Linked DNA regions of Homo sapiens: regions 2 and 3 are each linked to region 1. The links are contacts of gene promoters, found by promoter capture Hi-C in human tissues and cell types (Jung and others, 2019). All regions are on one chromosome and are shown on one strand. The core of a region is centred on a gene start or on the middle of the fragment in contact, and the rest is flanking DNA. Distances in the headings are between cores, read along the strand shown. Region 1 holds the start of PPP2R5C (protein phosphatase 2 regulatory subunit B'gamma). Region 2 overlaps MOK (MOK protein kinase). Region 3 overlaps CINP (cyclin dependent kinase 2 interacting protein).

Region 1 (2,832 bases), core at 230-2,729:
TAGGCAAGCACAATTTTCATAAAATCATTAATAGTTTTCCAAAGCAAAACAGTAAATACCTAAACAACTAAAATTGAGGGTTATAAAAGACACCACAAAAAAAAAACCTCACATAGGGAAACATTTTAGAAGATTCTAGGCTTTATCACTCTCGGTTTTTCTACCTGAAGTTAAAAGCTGTGTATAAAATACAAAGTCAATATTTGATGACAGTTACCTCTGATTCTACTGTGTCTTGTCCTTCTTTTGAACTTTTTCCACTCTTCCCTGCTTTTGGTGATTCCTGGTAAACATCAAGCAAAGTCAATTAGTCTTCTCACTTTTTAGACAGGTAAACATCAGATAAGCCAAATGCAGTTTTAAAAGTGATTTATACAACTACAGCTTCTGATATTTTTAATTCATACCATTAGGAAATTCTATATCATACCGTTTAGGATTCCAACAGTGCAATGCCCCCCAACCCCCATTCAGATTCTTTTCGTTTTATCTGCATTTGAGGTTGAAAACTTCAAGCAGAAAACAGATAAATCCAATTTTATACAGTGCTTCTGGCATTTTGAGATCCACATCACATCCCTTTCTACCCTCCCACCCTAAACCCTATGAGTGAGGATTTCTGGGGTGATAATGAAACGCTACAGAGCTCCACCTGAAGCAGAAACATACCCGCCCCCCCGAATGCAAACGCAGCACCCTTGCTCGCAGCCCTCACCGCCGCCGCCACCCAGGATAATAATAGTGTTCGAGAGCCCCAGAGCGTCCCTCCGGGGCGGCAGAGAATTCCTTACCAGCTCTCAGCGGGGTCCCTTCTCGCTCCCTTTCCCCCGTACAGGGGTCCCTCCCCAGGCGTCTACAGCCCCCATCCCTGAAGCTCCTTTCCGGGAGCCTGCGAGGCTGCGAACCCCCTCGGCGGCCGCACCTGCCCGCCCAAGCCCACGGCGCGCTGTCGGAAACGGGCGCCCCTCCGACCCCCTCCCCGGGCCGCGCCCTCCCTCCACGCCCAGCCCCGGCCCATCACGAAGGTCCCAGCGGCCCGGGCCTGCGCCCCGCGGCTCCGGCGCGATCCCCGGGCTCCCCGCCCCCACCGGGCATGAGGCCGAGAGAAGCCCGGGGATGCCTGGCTCGGCCGCCCTCGGGGACGCGAAGCCCGCGGCGTCAGGCGGGGAACTGAGCCGGGGCCCGGGCGCAGGACCCCGGTGCCGTCGCGCCCTCCCCCGGCAGTCCCTCCCTGCTCCCTCCGTCCCGCGGCCGGGCCCGGACTCACTTTCTCCTTCTTGTTTTTATTCGGCATGGCTGGAGCGGGCCGCCGCCGCCGCCGCCGCCCCTGCCGCCGCCTGCCCCCGCAGCAGCAGCGCCCCCGCCCCGGCCGTCGCGCCCCCGCGGCCGCCGCCGCCGCCGCCGCCCGGGGACTGAGTCTTTCGCTTGCTCTCGCTTCCCCTTTTCCAGACTCCCAGAGGCTGCGGCAGCCACGGCGGCGGCGGCGGCGGCGGCGGCGGCAGCGGCGGCGTCTCTCCGCCCCTCCCCCGGCCGGCCCGCCCCGCCCCTCTCCTCCCACCCCCCGGCCGGCCGCCCCGCCCCGCCCGCCGCTCGCCCCACCCCCGCGCCCGGCCCCGCCCCGCTGCACTCAACAGCGCCCTGCCATTGGTCGACGCGCCCCCACGTACCCTAACGCTCCCCGCTCCCCCCACCCTCTCCGCGCGACCCGTTCACGCCCCCGCCCTCCGTCCCGAGTCGCTGCGAGCCGGCCTCAGGCAGGCCGCGGCCTCCTGGCGCGGGGCTGACCGCTGAGCAGAGCTGAGCCGACTCAGGGGAGGGAGCATGTGGCTGCGACTGCGGTGACAGGGCCGTGGCCCGCTGTGGAGGCGCAAGACAGAGCGTGAGACGTAGGAAATGCACATTTGAAATGTATGGCAACAACTTCTGCAGCCGGCGAAACGCGAACCGTGGCCTCTTGGCCTTGCCCCCTCACCGCCGCGGCTCTCGTTGCAGTCAAGAGTGCCTGGCACGCTTTGCACTGAGGCGCACGGGGAGGCCCGGGAACCGAGCGAGCGGCAGTTTCGCGGGACACCGCTGGGCCCCGCCTCCCCTCCCTTCCCTCCCCTCCCCTTCCCTCCTCTCCCTCCACTCCCCTCCCCTCCGTCCCCTCCCCTCGACCACCCCGTCCCCTGCCCTCCCCTTCTCTCGACCAGCCCGTCCCCTGCCCTCCCCTCCCCTCCCCTCGACCAGCCCGTCCCCTCCCCTCCTCTTCCCTCGGCCAGCCCCTCCCCTCGGCCAGCCCTTCCCCTCGACCAACCCCTCTCCTCGACCGGCCCCTCCCCTCGACCGGCCCCTCCCCTTGGCCGGGCCCTCCCCTTGACCGGCCCCTCCCCTCGACCGGCCCCTCCCCTCGGCCGGCCCCTTCCCTCGGCCAGCCCCTCCCCTCGACCAGCCCCTCCCCTCGACCAGCCCCTCCCCTCACCAGCTCAGCTTTCCGCAGCTCCTCCCGCGAGGTCCCGCCCATCCGACAGCCCGCCCCTCCCTGGTTGGTCCCGCCCTCCGCAGTTTCTCCCGCAAGGTCCCGCCTACCCGACAGTCCCGTCCTTTCCTGGTTGGTCCCGCCCTCCGCAGCTTTTGCCGCGAGGTCCCACCCACCCGACAGCCCCGCCCCTCTCCAGTCGGCCCCGCCCTCCGCAGCTCCTTCCGCGAGGTCACGCCCACATGCGCAGCCCCTCTCCTCCGGCGTCGGCCCCGCCCACCGAGGCGAGGCCTCAAAGACTTGGTGGCCGCTGCGCCAATAGGATTTTATTTTTATTCTTTAATTTGGCTTGATCATAAATGGTGAGGAAACCT
Region 2 (2,926 bases), core at 170-2,669, 530 kb before region 1:
TACAGGCATGAGCCACTATGCCTAGCCAGGTGTTGCTATGTTGACCAGGCTGGTCATGAACTCCTGATCTGAAGTGATCCTCCCATCTTGCACTCCCAAAGTGTTAGGATTACAGATGTGAGCCATCACGCCCAGTCCAGAACATAGATCTTTGAATAATTCTTCAAGTTTATTAACAGTGGACTTACTGGGTTAATAGGTGTAATTTCAATTTTAAAATTTTAAGAATTTTTGAATAGTTTTGTGTTCTTTTCTGTTTTCACAATGTTTAGTAATTCAGGTCATAATTTTCCTCACTATATCAAATAATTAATTGTGTACAGCTCCTCTTCACTGAAGCTTCCTGACCTTGTTTTAGTAATTTGGTTTGAACTGTTTAATCTCTCGAAGAGAATGGAAATTAGTAAGAAGCTGAAATCTTCTTCCTCGCATACTCTAGTTGTAGTCAGCAATTAACCTCCCCCAATTCTTTTCCTCCCTCTACTGGTGAAGCCCCATAGCTCTGATGCCTGTCACCCACCCTGATTAAGAACTTTATAAACAGCACATGAATAAAAATGTTTGGACTTGAACGTGACAAGTTTTGCATTTCACAAAAAGTGAATTTGACCTTCATTTTCACTTGTTAAATAAGGCTTAAATTCCACTTCAACAAACAAGCCTTGGTTTAATAAATGTGCATAGAATCTTAATACAGAGGTATTCATTTATCTCCCTTGTTCTCCCTTTTTCATCCAGCTCTGTTATTTTAACCCCTTTGTCCTTGAGTCTGTTTTTCTTTTTGTTTTGGTGCTTGTTTACTCTATTCCCAATAATGTGGGGCATGACGTTCATTTACAGTATCATAGCTCTGTTCCCTTCAGAGCTTTGTATCATGCTTTGTCTGCATTTCAGTGTTTCTTGTTTAATTTTGAAGGCCTATGAAAATACGCCAGATCTTGTTGGAGAGAACAGGAACTTTTCCCAGGAATTTTTTCATAGAGGTGGTTTCTTTTTTAATCCCTGCCTCTTATCCTTGTTTTATACCCCATACTTTCTGCCTACTAGAAGAGCCATGAGGGAAACAAGTGACCCCTTTATCTACCAACAGACACCTCCAGTGCGGCAAGTTCCATTTATTGCTGGTTGTGATGGTTTCGAGCCAGCCTGGGACATTGGCACACACTGAATTTGTGTGCTGAAACCACTTTACAGTTCACAGTTGACCTATTTTTTTTAAAGCAAGTCTGCTTAATTTATCTGTGATGAAACACAAATTGGAATTGATTGTGTAAATTCCCTCTTCTCTTAAATCTGAATTCCTTAGTCCACAGCTTGACTTTGAGTGATTGACCTCCAATCCCTCCTTTGATTTTCTTTTTTTTTTCTTTTTGAGACAAGGTCTCTCGCTGTCTGTCACTCAGGCTGGAGTACAGTGGCACCATCATGGCTCACTGCAGCCTTGACTTCCCGGGCTCAGAGGATTCTCCTATCTCAGCCTCCCAAGTGGCCGGGGCTACAGGCACGCATCACGATGCCTGGCTAATTTTTTTTTTTTTTTTTTTTGAGACGGAGTCTCGCTCTATCACCCTGGCTGGAGTGCAGTGGCGCTATCTCGGCTCACTGCCAGCTCCGCCTCCCGGGTTCATGCCATTTTCCTGCCTCAGCCTCCCGAGTAGCTGGGACTACACGTGCCCACCACCACGCCTGGCTAATTTTTTGTATTTTTAGTAGAGACGGGGTTTCACCATGTTAGCCAGGATGGTGTTGATCTCCTGACCTCGTGATCCGCCCGCCTTGGCCTCCCAAAGTGCTGGGATTACAGGCATGAGCCACCGCACCCGGCCTCACCTGGCTAATTTTTTTGTATTTTTGGTAGAGACAAGATTTCACCATGTTACCCAGGCTGGTCTCAAACTCCTGGGATCAGGTGATCCGCCTGCCTAAGCCTCCCAGAGTGCTGGGATTACAGGCATGAGCCACCACACCTGGCCCCTTCCCGTGATCTTTATGACTGTCTTCCTTTAAAAGGATATTGTAGTTTTAAGACAGTTCATTTTAAGTTCATGTTTTTCGTGGCACTTAGCCAACACTTTCACTGATTTCTTAAAATTCTTGAAATGTTCACCTTTACACACATTTAAAGTAATGTGTATTCATTGCGAACATTGAGTAATGTAGATAATTATAATGAAGAAAATTTAAATCACCTTCAGTCCCACTCAGATACATTAAAAAAATTACATATTTATATTCAGTCTTTTTCTTTTTTTTCTTTTCTTTTCTTTTTTTTTTTTTTTTTTTTTTTTTGTGATGGAGTTTCGCTCTTGTTGCCCAGGCTGGAGTGCAATGGTGCTATGATCTTGGCTCACCGCAACCTCCGCCTCCTGGGTTCAAGTGATTCTCCTGCCTCAGCCTCCCGAGTAGCTGGGATTACAGGCATGCACCACCACACCTGGCTAATTTTGTATTTTTAGTAGAGACAGGGTTTCTCCATGTTGGTCATGCTGGTCTCGAACTCCTGACCTCAGGTGATCCGCCTGCCTCAGCCTCCCAAAGTGCTGGGATTACAGGCGTGAGCCACCGCACCCAGCTGTATTCAGTCTTTCTCTGTGCATGTGTTGTGTGTATGATCATTATCATCCTTTTTTTCACTTAACATGAAATTATGGCTGAACATTTTCCCATGTCATGAAATATTATTTGAAAGCATCGTTATCAATGGTTACATAATATTTCAGTCTGTGGCTATTTCATAGTTTGTTAGAACATTTCCTTGATACTGGATATTTAAGTTTCTGGCATTCTTACTTTTGTGACACTGTGAATACCATCTTTGTTTATGAAGTTTTTTGTTTGTTCATTTGTTTTTTGTTTTTGAGATGGAATCTAGCTCTGTCACCCAGGCTGGAGTGCAGTGGCACAATCTCCGCTCACTGCAACCTCC
Region 3 (2,700 bases), core at 2-2,501, 590 kb before region 1:
GGCACAGGAAATCAGGTTTTACACATATTTGAACTTGGATAACTGAAGCTTACCCATAAACATTTAAGATCTTTATATTTTCACCTTTTTGTTTGTTTGGAGACAAGGTCTCGCTGTGGAATGCAGTAGTATGATCACAGCTCACTGCAGCCTTTACTTCCTGGGCTTAAGTGATCTTCTTGCCTCAGCCTCCCGAGTAGCTGGGACTACAAGCATGAACCATCATGCCCGGCTAATTTTTAAAATTCGTTTGTACAGACGGGGTTCTCATGTTGGCCAGGCTGGTCTCGAACTCCTGACATGAAGTGATCTTCCCACCTTGGCCTCCCAAAGTGCTGGGATCACAGGTGTGAGCCCTGGCGCCCTGCCTTAGCTTTTCCGTCATGTCTTGTTTTGGCTTCAGGATCCTGTATGACATCGAGTCCCCTTGTTTCCTCAGGCTCCTTTTGGCCGTGACAGTTTCTCAGACTTCCCTGTTTTTGATGACTTTGACAATGTTGAGGGATACTGGTCAGGTATTTTGTAGAACATCATGAGATTTATCTGATGTTTTTCTCCTAATTAGACTGAGGTTACGGGTTTTGTTCAGAGGAGGACCACAGAAGTAAAGTGCCATTTCTATCATGTCATATCAAGGGCACGTACTGGATATACTGTCATCAGGACTTTTCTTTGGGTCCCACCTATTGCCCGGGCTGGTCTCAAACTCCTGGGCTCAAGCAGTGCTCCCACCTCAGCCTCCCAAAGTGCTGGGATTCCAGGCGTGAGCCACTGTGCACAGCCAGGACTTTCCACTGCTGAAGTTGACCTTGATCACCTGGCTGGGCAGTGTTTCCAGGTTCCTCTGCTGTGACGTTGCTCTTTCTCCTCCTCCCACGCTGTGCTCTTTGGCAGGAAGTCACTATGCATAGCCCACACCTGGGGGTAGGGACGTATTCACCACCTGCTTGAGGGTGCAGTATCTACATAAATTATTTGGAATTATTCTGCGTGGGAGATTTGTTCCCTCCCTCCCATTTGTTAATTTTTTTTTTTTTTGAGATGGAGTTTCACTCTTGTTGCCCAGGCTGGAGTGCAGTGGGGTGATCTCTGCCCACTGCAACCTCTGCCTCCTGGGTTCAAGTGATTCTCCTGTCTCAGCTTCCCAAGTAGCTGGGATTACAGGTGCCTGCCACCACACCCAGCTAATTGTTGTATTTTTATTTGTTTTTTTTTAATTTTTGTTTTGGCCAGGCGCAGTGGCTCATGCCTGTAATCCCAGCACTCTAGGAGGCCGAGGCAGGTGGATCACCTGAGGTCAAGAGTTTGAGACCAGCATGGCCAACATAGTGAAACCCCATCTCTACTAAAAATACAAAAAATTAGCTGGGGGTGGTGGCAGGTGCCTGCAATCCCAGCTACTTGGGAGGCTGAGGCGGGAGAATCACTTTCGGAGGTTGCAGTTAGCCGAGATCAAGCCACTGCACTCCAGTCTGGGCCACAGAGTGAGACTCCGTGTCAAAAAAAAGAAAAAAAGAAAAAGAAAAGTGGTTTGGGAATAAGTTCTCATTCTATGTTCAAAACCAAAAGTTGATTTTATAGGGTATTATTATTTTTCCTATTTTCCTCTATCCGTTATAGAGAATGGTTTCCAGACCTGGTCTGTGTCTTTCATAACTTTGACCTTCTGGGGGTTTCATGCACCGTTCTTCCTAAGCTGGGCTAACATTTCACTGTGGTCTGTGTTTGCTGTGGGAAGAAGCCACCGATGTTGAAATGTAAGGGCCTGCTGTTTATGCACTGTTCATTCAGGGCTGCACGTGCCTATGTGACTTGAATTCTTTATTGATGGCTGAGCTGCAGGATTGAGCATGACTTCTTGCCTGGGGTCAAGGCTCCAGAATTTTCCTTAGTCTCCTGTTATCAGCTTTTCTTAGAATCAGGTGGCACCAGGGAGCTGCTGCAGGACTCACAGGAAAGAGCAGAGGATTGGGTGTTAAAACTTGGTGTCGGCTGGGCGCGGTGGCTCACGCCTGGAATCCCAACACTTTGGGAGGCTGAGGTGGGCGGATCACAAGGTCAGGAGATCGAGACCATCCTGGCTAACACAGTGAAACCCCAGCTCTGCTAAAAGTACCAAAAAAATTAGCCAGGCACAGTGGCGGGCGCCTGTAGTCCCAGCTACTTGGGAGGCTGAGGCAGGAGAATGGCATGAACCCGGGAGGCGGAGGTTGCAGTGAGCGGAGATCGCGCCACTGCACTCCAGCCTGGGTGACAAAGCGAGACTCTGTCTCAAAAAAAACAAAAACAAAAACAAAAACAAAAAAACTTGGTGTCAGAAGGCATGGTATCGAGTTCTGGCCTCATCCTTCCTCAGCTCAACCTTAAGCAATTTCCCAGCTGTGAAACGGAAATGACAAGTCCTGCCTCTTGGGGTTGGGCCAAATAAAATATCAAACCTTAAAAGATTTGGGAAACTACTTAAGTAAAGTCCTTTAAAAATTAACGTTAGCTGAATTTAGTGCTTGCCACTTCCAATGTAATTGGAGGGTGGTTGGAAGGACCAAGTAAAGGAATTAAGATATTTGACAATTTATATATCTTTTCTTATTTCCCCTTTTTCATATTTATGTATGTAAAGTCAACTATACTTAGGAGTTCAAAATTTGGTCTTTATAGACCTATGCTACTTAAATCTGAAATCCTAGTTACTTCACCCAT

What was found. Contacts are between HindIII fragments. The study calls those that stand out against the background at their distance.
Region 2: a contact is called between a fragment that was not itself captured here and the fragment with the promoter of PPP2R5C in region 1, in 1 of the 25 tissues and cell types used here (hippocampus).
Region 3: a contact is called between a fragment that was not itself captured here and the fragment with the promoter of PPP2R5C in region 1, in 1 of the 25 tissues and cell types used here (dorsolateral prefrontal cortex).

The regions. Positions count from the first base shown.
Region 1 is chr14:101,760,356-101,763,187 of GRCh38, reverse strand. It overlaps PPP2R5C (protein phosphatase 2 regulatory subunit B'gamma), which reads right to left and starts at 1,479. Exons shown (of 16, transcript NM_001352913.2): 1 at 1,268-1,479; 2 at 218-283. The coding sequence starts at 1,294. RefSeq lists silencers at 844-913, 964-1,183, 1,324-1,563, 1,574-1,733, 2,194-2,243 and 2 more. The HindIII fragment of the contact is 18,209 bases long and covers 1-2,832 here.
Region 2 is chr14:102,293,065-102,295,990 of GRCh38, reverse strand. The region is part of intron 1 of MOK (MOK protein kinase); the gene reads left to right. Among named protein-coding and RNA genes, the nearest start is that of MOK, 11 kb to the left of the region's middle. The HindIII fragment of the contact is 5,250 bases long and covers 1-2,926 here.
Region 3 is chr14:102,351,476-102,354,175 of GRCh38, reverse strand. The region is part of intron 3 of CINP (cyclin dependent kinase 2 interacting protein); the gene reads left to right. Among named protein-coding and RNA genes, the nearest start is that of CINP, 10 kb to the left of the region's middle. The HindIII fragment of the contact is 9,147 bases long and covers 1-2,700 here.